Regions from separate parts of the Homo sapiens genome. Here region 1 is linked to region 2. Evidence: promoter capture Hi-C in 16 types of primary human blood cells and fetal thymus (Javierre and others, 2016). All regions are on one chromosome and are shown on one strand. The core of a region is centred on a gene start or on the middle of the fragment in contact, and the rest is flanking DNA. Distances in the headings are between cores, read along the strand shown. Region 1 overlaps SLC22A23 (solute carrier family 22 member 23). Region 2 holds the start of SERPINB1 (serpin family B member 1).

Region 1 (3,869 bases), core at 1,314-3,813, 520 kb after region 2:
TGTCTTTCCATCCTCAAGAGACCCAGCATCCAGCAGGCACTCAAGAAAGGATGGGTGAACCATTTATTAGTGGGTAAAGCAATGGATGAACTGAAACACAGTCTGTTTTTAGTTGATGTCCCAGTAAGAGTGTTAGGGGGAAGTCAAGGTGTTGGAGGGGTTGCTCTAGATTTCAATGATCCACACCATCTCTAATTTCTTACTAATTAATCAAATAGTGAATGTCTAACAAATGGGGAAGGTACTATGCTGGGCCAAGTAGCCATGTAATGGGTTTCTGAATCTCATAATTCAACATCATCTTCTTCAACTGACACTTGTCTTTCCAGGTCAATTAAGCAGGCAGCCTCATTAGTTCATGGGTAGACAACACGCAGAACAGACAAAGCAGGACCTGAGGGCCAGAGGGTGACAGTATCTAACTCTGCCCCTAAAAGCACAAGGCATTTGGACAATTTGTGCTACACTCTTTCCTTTAAACAGGCAACAGGAAAAACAATAAAAGATATTCCTACTACCGAGTTTATAAAAACACAAACAAAAAAAACCAGCGCCTCTCCACATGGCAGTATTCAAATCCTTATCTTTGGGCTCCTACCCTCTATCTGCTTGGAAACAGCTCCCTGTCTTTGTGGCCGCCACCCTCCCCAGCTAAAAAAAAAAAAGTCTCCCTCCAAATACTATCCAGTAGCTCTTCAAATAAAATGGGATGAATAGAGAGGCCTTGATAACCACCAGTTTTCTCATCTTCAAACTGGAAATCAGAAATAATATCAGTAAAGACATCGACTTATTAGGTACAGTGAGAAGCCTTTGAACTTAAAAGACGGGAGGAAGACAAGCATGCTGCTCGTGGGTTCGTCACACCCTGTTCTATGCAACAAAGCAACCCTCCCTGGGTCGAGAAAAAAAATCTCCATGATGATCTCTTAGAAATATAAATGTATTTATAGATAGATATTTTCCCTCTTACCATGTGTATAAGAGAACAGGACGTTGCTGGGCAGAGGGAAGTTATTGTGTGAAGGCCAAGGTCATAACAAGGTTACCGTTCTCATGAGTCTGGGCTAGGTCTGGGCCCTCCCGCCCCGCTCCCTGTATCAGCCCCACTCCCAGGCTCCAGAGCTAGGCCACTTGATGCCTGGTCAGTCCTTTCTGTGCCTTCCCAAATTTACTCTCAATTTCTGGCTCATCTACTATTCTCATTTGCTATTTCTTAAGTTCTGGGCCACGGGAGCCCAAGGTCTCACTCAGCCCTGCACAAACCCCAGCTCTCAAAGCCGGCGTCGCTCTCACTCATTCCCTGTCTCCGCATCGACACGGAGGAGCCACTGGATATAACGCTGAGGTATTAAAAAAAGAAGGAAGTTCAGAAAAACAAACACAGTACGACAGCATTTGTAGGAAGTTTTTTTTTAAAGGCAAAACTGTACAACGCAGTGTTCTAGATGTGGGAAAACCTAACGAAACTCATGAGGATGAAAAACAGCAAACGGGGTGGGGAGACTTGTGGACAGGGGAGGGGGAGGAGGCGGGGGGCGCGGGAGGGGGAGGAGGCGGGAGGAGGCGGGGGTGGGTGGAGGCGGGAGGGTGGGACTTATTAATGAGGCTTGTTTCCGAGTCCGGGTAGCAGATACACGTGACATCAGAAACATCTCATAATCACGAAAGAAATCGAAGCACGCGTGCTCTCTCGGGAGGGCCCTCCTTCTGCGTGCCAGCCCTTGGGATCTGGACTTCTGGCTCCTGGAAACATTCAAAAGGAAACCGGTGGGCCATGGAACCGCTGACAGGATTGGATGGTAAAACAGTGTCTTAGATCCACCCTCGGTGCCTACAAGGGTAACAGGCCACACCCCCATCTCAGAGATGGCAGCGACCTCATCCAAGGGGCAGGGGAAGCCTCAGAGGAGTGATTTTAGCAGCCTCTCACTTCCTCATTTGCCTGTGAAAATAAAGCTGACCCTAAACTTACCGGCTCTGCACTACCCTCCCGCTGGCTGCTTCATTGTCCTGGGCAAATCTTCAGCCCCAGAGACAGTAGTGTTTATTTTAGAACCAAACCCGCTGGCCAGGACACCATCCACGTGAAACATTTCTTCCTAAGCCTGAAGCTTTGTTGTAACCCTGTTGTCTTCCTCCTTATTGGCTCAGCAGTGAGATGGGCTGGCTTGAACCTCCAGGTCTTGAAACCTGCCCAAGATACCAACAACCACCTGTAATAAGGTGCAGGATCCCGCTCAAGCCCTTCAGAGCATCTGTGGATGTGTTACCTCATATGCCCTCACCAAATCCTATAAATAAGAATATCAAGTAGTATCCCCATTTCCAAGATGGGAAATGGCCCCTTCAAAGGTCAGGTCACCGACACTGTGATGCAGGTGGTGTCTCTAGGAGAGGCGCAGGCTTCTAGATCCCAACTGTCGTGGTTTGTTCTAAAGGCTGCAGCAGCCTGGACCATAAAGACAATTTTAAAGCAGTAAACCTAGCAATACAGCCTGGAAGAGAAAACCAAAACAGAGCCAAAAAAAAAAAAAAAAAAAAAAAAAAAACCCAAAACAAGGCAGGCACTGTAATGAAATGCTCACATTTACTCCAGTGCCCACATCTGCATTCCCAGAGTCTCAGAAATCCAGCAGGATTCCAATGCCATGGAAATATGTATCATTGTTTTTGCCAAACAAACTCCCTTACCTTAAGCAAAGGTCAAGTACACTGTAAAACTCCCAGTGCAAACAACCAGCTGGAGGACTTATCCCAGCCTCTGTAAAGTCTTTGCTAATAATTATCCAGACAGCTTTCCTAATTTTTATTTTTAAATGGGGTTGTGGCTCAGCAATAGTGTAAGGATTAATCGCCTTATCAATTAGCATGAGGAAAGGACTGCAAATACAAAGTAGGTGTGTTCTTCCTGGCTTTCTACCTGCTCAATTAGGCTCAGGTCTTAAATGATTTCCAAAATTGGACTACATCTACTGTGTTTACTTCATTCTAAATATCAAAAAGATATCTAAAAGCTTATCATAAAAAAATTTAGAATTTCCCTTTTTGGTTACCAGCCTAAAAGCTCCTTAGTTTAGGGACTGTGTTCTTATTCAACAAGCCATGCCCAGCTCCTGGTTCACAGAACACACTGAATAATGACAAATAATGGAAAACAGAAGGCGGCTGTGTATAATGAATGCATTTCATTCACTTATTCAGCAAGGAGGATGAGGTAGCACCATGCCAGGGGAGATGCCGAGATGAAGCCACACCACCGGCCTCAAGGGGCTCACAGTCTGATGAAGAGACACGTGCCTATAAGACACAGATGGGGTTCTGTGCTACAGGAATGCAAAGAAAGGGACGAGGCCTGGGGAAGACTTCACCAAAGAAGCAGCATTTGAATCTTCCCTTAAGGGAAAAGGAAGTAGGACTGTCCTGCCATGTGGGTGAGGGGAAGGGAAGAGGCCTGGGAGGAGAGTTTTCAGAGAGGCAACCAGCTCTTGCAAAGGCGGCCAGTGCAGAAGAGGCTAGACAGGTTAGGTTCTCAGTATCAAAGTCCCCAGGATGGAGAGAAATTGGAACCTTTAAACACTGTTGGTAGGGATGCAAAAATGGTGCAGCCATTATGGAAAACAGTATGGCAGTTCCTCAAAAAACTAAAACTAGAACTGCCATATGATCCAGTGATTCTACTTCCAGGTACTTATCCAAAAGAATTGAAATTAGGATCTCAAAGCACTTGACGTGAGCGCTCCCACGTTCACTGCAGTGTTATCCACAACAGCCAAGATATGGAAACAACGCAGAGGTCCACTGATAGGTGAAGGGACACACGAAACACAGTGAAAAATACAATAGAATATGATTCCGCTTAAGAACGA
Region 2 (4,084 bases), core at 897-3,396:
CAGAATTAAAGAGTACCAAGCACAGAAGTCCTCTCCATGTCCATTATGGACAAGAAGGAAGGCTGGGCATGAGAGTGACCTGTCACATCGCCAAGGGCTGGGTCCCGCCCCTGAAGCTGCGGGTCTCCCCCTCACCTCCCCTGCAGGGCGTGCTATGCCACAGCCCACTGAGCCATGCGCAGCACCCTGGGACTACAGAACCACAGGGTCACTTTTTCTCTTTTCCTTGCAAAAAAGCAATGCCACTATCTCCACTATAATGCATTCCCTATGTCTTATTCCTCTCATTATGCTTGAAAGTAGTGTTATATAACAGGCAATATTTATGAGTTGCATATCATCATATGCAAAGCAAAAACTGGAAGATGCTAGCTCAGGAGGATGTAGTATGCCTTTCAGGAAAGCTGTCAGATTCATCCACTGGAACAGAAGCCTCGCCCTGCAGGGATTTTTGTCAGCTTTGCTCACTGCTGTCTCCTCAGCAATACGAAAAACAGTTCCTGGTACGTGGTAGGTACTTAGGAAAAACCTGATGATGAATGGAAGCCTGCATACAAGTGTGACTTTTCTGAAAGTCTGATCTCATAAAAATACAGTTCTGAAAACACAAGGTAAGAGCTCAAAGGCACAACCTTTCCATGCAGACTGTCCATTCGTAGGGAGATGGGAGGAAAGCAGACCCTTTTTTTTGTTTCTGCTGACCTTGGACAGCTGTGCTGCCGTGTTACCTCTGGTCCCCAGAAAAACCATGGCCATAGCAGATGAAATGCTGAAGGGAGAGATGAAGATGTTTCCAGCCGGATTGTTCTCACTCAACGCCAGGAACAGGTCCAAGGCGAAGCGGGTGTTTGCTGAGCTCAGCTGCTCCATGGTGAAAACTGCAACACAGAACAGGGTCCTCATGGTGCCCACTGCCCACGCCAGCAGATTAGGCAGCACTATTTCTCCAGAAGCTTCCTCAATTTCTGCCAACCGCCCTGAGGCATCCTGGATCTTGTACTTTCTCCCCGCTTTTTTATTCCAGCAGGGCAAGAACACTTTCCCAGGCCCACAAATGTGGGACCATTCTGGCCAAGGACTCAGCAGTTATAGGGGATTTTAGGGCACCCAGGGTGCCCTAAAGGGCTCTGACCTTGCAGACAGGTGAGTCTGGGGGTGGGGCGGGGGTAAGGCAGGCCCCAGCTACCCCAGCTTTAGTGGGGTGGGAGGGCCCACCCAGCCCTGGGTCTTCCCAACCTATGTGTGGGAGCGCACGTGCTTCTGAGCCTTTGATTCAAGTCTCTGATTCATTGGGCAATGAATCCATTGCCTACCTTCACCTGAACTAAGAGCCTTCTATCAGAGACTCAGCTACCTACTATGCATTAAAACTCCAGCAAAGGTATCACTGTAATTATTATAATAATATAATTCTTCCTTATTTTTGAGGTTCAAAAGGTATGAGGTCCAGTGCCCACAGTCTCAGAGCCGGTGTAGGATGTGCCAGTTTGGAAACCCACCACAGTCCAGGGTCTGGCCGTGCAGCGTCCCATCCGCCACCCACTAGCCCATCTCGATCTCCACTCTCAGAGCCCTGATTTCCCCCGAGGACAGGCAAAGAAGAACCGTGCTGGCTGCTCGGCATGTAAGCACAAAGCTGATTTCTCCTTGTTGTGAAATCGTCTCTAGAATCGCACGGGGTTCCTCCTCTCTCTCCCTGCAGCTGCAGATAGGAGCCGCGGCCTGGCCCTGGGCTGCCTGGAAACCGTCACAAACAGCTCTGGGAGGAAGGGAATTCAGGGAGAAGGGACAACATTCTGATCTCAGGTTTCAGTCTTGCCTTCCGCCTGCATCTGTCGTCCTCCCTCCCTCCCTCCCTCGCGGGCTGGCCCGGCCTGTACCCAGGCGGGGGCGGGGGATCAGAGGTCGTCTGTCTCCGTCGGGGCGCCCGGAAGGGATGGGGGCGCGAAGCTGGCGGGGAGGGCGAGCGCAGGGAGCTGCGGGTCTGAGGGGCCTGAGCCTGGGGGGTGGGGGGTGCCGGGCTGGAAGCTGAGCGAGGGAGCCTGGCCTCTCCCCGCGCCCGCCCCCGCGCCACCGCTCCGAGGCCCGGCCTTACCCGACAGGCCGCCGAGGCACGCTCCGGGCTCCGAGCTGGGTGCGAGGTCAGGAAGGAGGCACCGAGGGCCGCTGCTCTTATAGCAGGCGGAAGCGTCACCCGGGCCAGCAGCCGCGGGCGGGGCGGCGGCCCTTCCCGGTGACTGCGTAGGAGTCCGAGCTCCCGAGGTCGCCTAAGTGCAAGCAGAAGTGAGCGTGGCTTCCGGGCAGCGCCCTCCTCAGGGGCGCGGCTTCTTTCTCAGTTCAAAGCCTTTCCCCGAATCTCTGGCAAGGACCTGAAAAGCTTTTTCTTACTAAGGTGTGAATGACTGAGACGACATATTGTGACACCTCTTAGAGGGCAAATGACTCCCTTTGAGTCCCATCTATATTGGGAGCTTTCTTTGAGAGAAGGAAGCAAATTTGGGGATCTTGCACAGGGAAAAAGAGGGGCCCCCAGAATCAGATGAAACAGAACCAGTTCCAAACACCTGCTCTCTGTTTCCAAGATGACAGCTTGCTGCTGCGTCCTCAATGGTGGAAAGTGGAAGGGCAAAAGGGGCCAAATCTCATGTGAAGTCTCTCGTATAAGGGGCCAATCCCATTCATGAGGAAGGTGCCCTCATAATCCAGTCACCTCCTAAAGGCACCACCTGTTAGTATTGCATTGAGGATTGTTTCAGCATGAATTTTGCAGGGAACACAGACATTCAAAGCATAGCATTCTGCCCCTGCCCTCCAAATTCATACCCCTCTCACATGCAAAATGCATGCATTGTATCCCAGTGGCCTCCAAAGTTCCAGTATCAACTTTAAAATGTAAGTCCAAAGTCTCACCTAAATATCTTCTAAATTAGAAAGGCATAAGATTCAAAGTACAATTCATCCTAAGTGAAATTCCCCTCCAGCTATGAGCCCGTGAAATCAAATAGGTTACAGGCCTTCAAAATACAGTGATGAGACAGGCATAGGACGTACATTCCCATTCCCAAAGGGAGAAGCAGGCAAGAAGAAAGGAGTATCTGGTCCCAAGTAAGTCCAAACCCAACAAGGCAAACAGCATTAAATCTTGGGGCTTCAGAATAATCTTCTTTGATGCTGTGTCCCCCATTCCGAGCACAGGGGGGTGGAGACTGGGTCCCCTAGTGTCCAGGGGATCCACTCCCATGGATTTGCCAGGTGCAACCCATGCAGCAGCTCTCACAGGTTGAGGTCTAGGCTCTCCCAGGATAGACTTGCATGCTGGTGGCTGGACAGTTCTGGGTTCTCAGGGACAGCCCTGTTCCCACAGCTCCACTAGATATTACTCTATTTGGGGCTCTCTGCAGTGGCCCCAATCCCACTGCTCCACTAAACATTGCCCTAGTGAGGGTTTTCTGCAGCAGCCTCACCTCAGTGACAATTCTCAGACTGGGCCCCCAGGGTCCCCAACACATCCTTCAAAATCTAGGTGGAGGTGGCTGTGTCTCCACAGTTCATGCACTCTGTGCACCTGCAGAGTTAGCATCACGTGGACTCTGCCAAGGCTTACAGGAAGGGTGGCCTGACAAGGGCCTGCATAAGCCACACGTGGGATGGTGGCCAAAGAGTGCTGCACCAGAATGTGGGGGGTGGGGGGGCAGAGACTTGAGGCAGCCCTAGGCAGCAAGCCCCAAGGTTCCATGGTGTCCTGAGTCCTCCCTTAAAACTATTCTGCCCTCAGGGTCCTGGCACTCTGGGACAGGGATGAGAATCCAGAACCAGTAACCTCAGAAATGCCTTTGGGTTCATTCTTCCATTGTCTTGATAAATAGCATCTGGCTTCCTTCTACACATACTCATCTCATTATCAAATGTGAACCTGGCAGCACTCTTGGTGTTCCCTCCCAAACATGCCTTTTCATTCTTTACATGGCCAGGCTGAGAATTTTCCAAAACTTTAAGCTCTGCTTCCCTCTTGATTATAAACTTCGTTTTTAATTCATTCTCTCTGCTCACATTTTACTACAAGCAGTCAAGAGAAGCCATGCTG

The links. Contacts are between HindIII fragments. The CHiCAGO score rates a contact against its expected background, and 5 or more counts as called.
Region 1: a contact is called between a fragment that was not itself captured here and the fragment with the promoter of SERPINB1 in region 2, in 1 of 17 cell types (activated CD4 T cells). The highest score is 5.0, in activated CD4 T cells.

The regions. Positions count from the first base shown.
Region 1 is chr6:3,354,533-3,358,401 of GRCh38, forward strand. All of the region lies in intron 3 of SLC22A23 (solute carrier family 22 member 23), which reads right to left. Among named protein-coding and RNA genes, the nearest start is that of PSMG4, 98 kb to the left of the region's middle. RefSeq lists an enhancer at 1,611-2,501. The HindIII fragment of the contact is 903 bases long and covers 2,113-3,015 here.
Region 2 is chr6:2,839,717-2,843,800 of GRCh38, forward strand. It overlaps SERPINB1 (serpin family B member 1), which reads right to left and starts at 2,147. Exons shown (of 7, transcript NM_030666.4): 1 at 2,096-2,147; 2 at 703-878. The coding sequence starts at 870. RefSeq lists a silencer at 2,042-2,091. The HindIII fragment of the contact is 1,424 bases long and covers 952-2,375 here.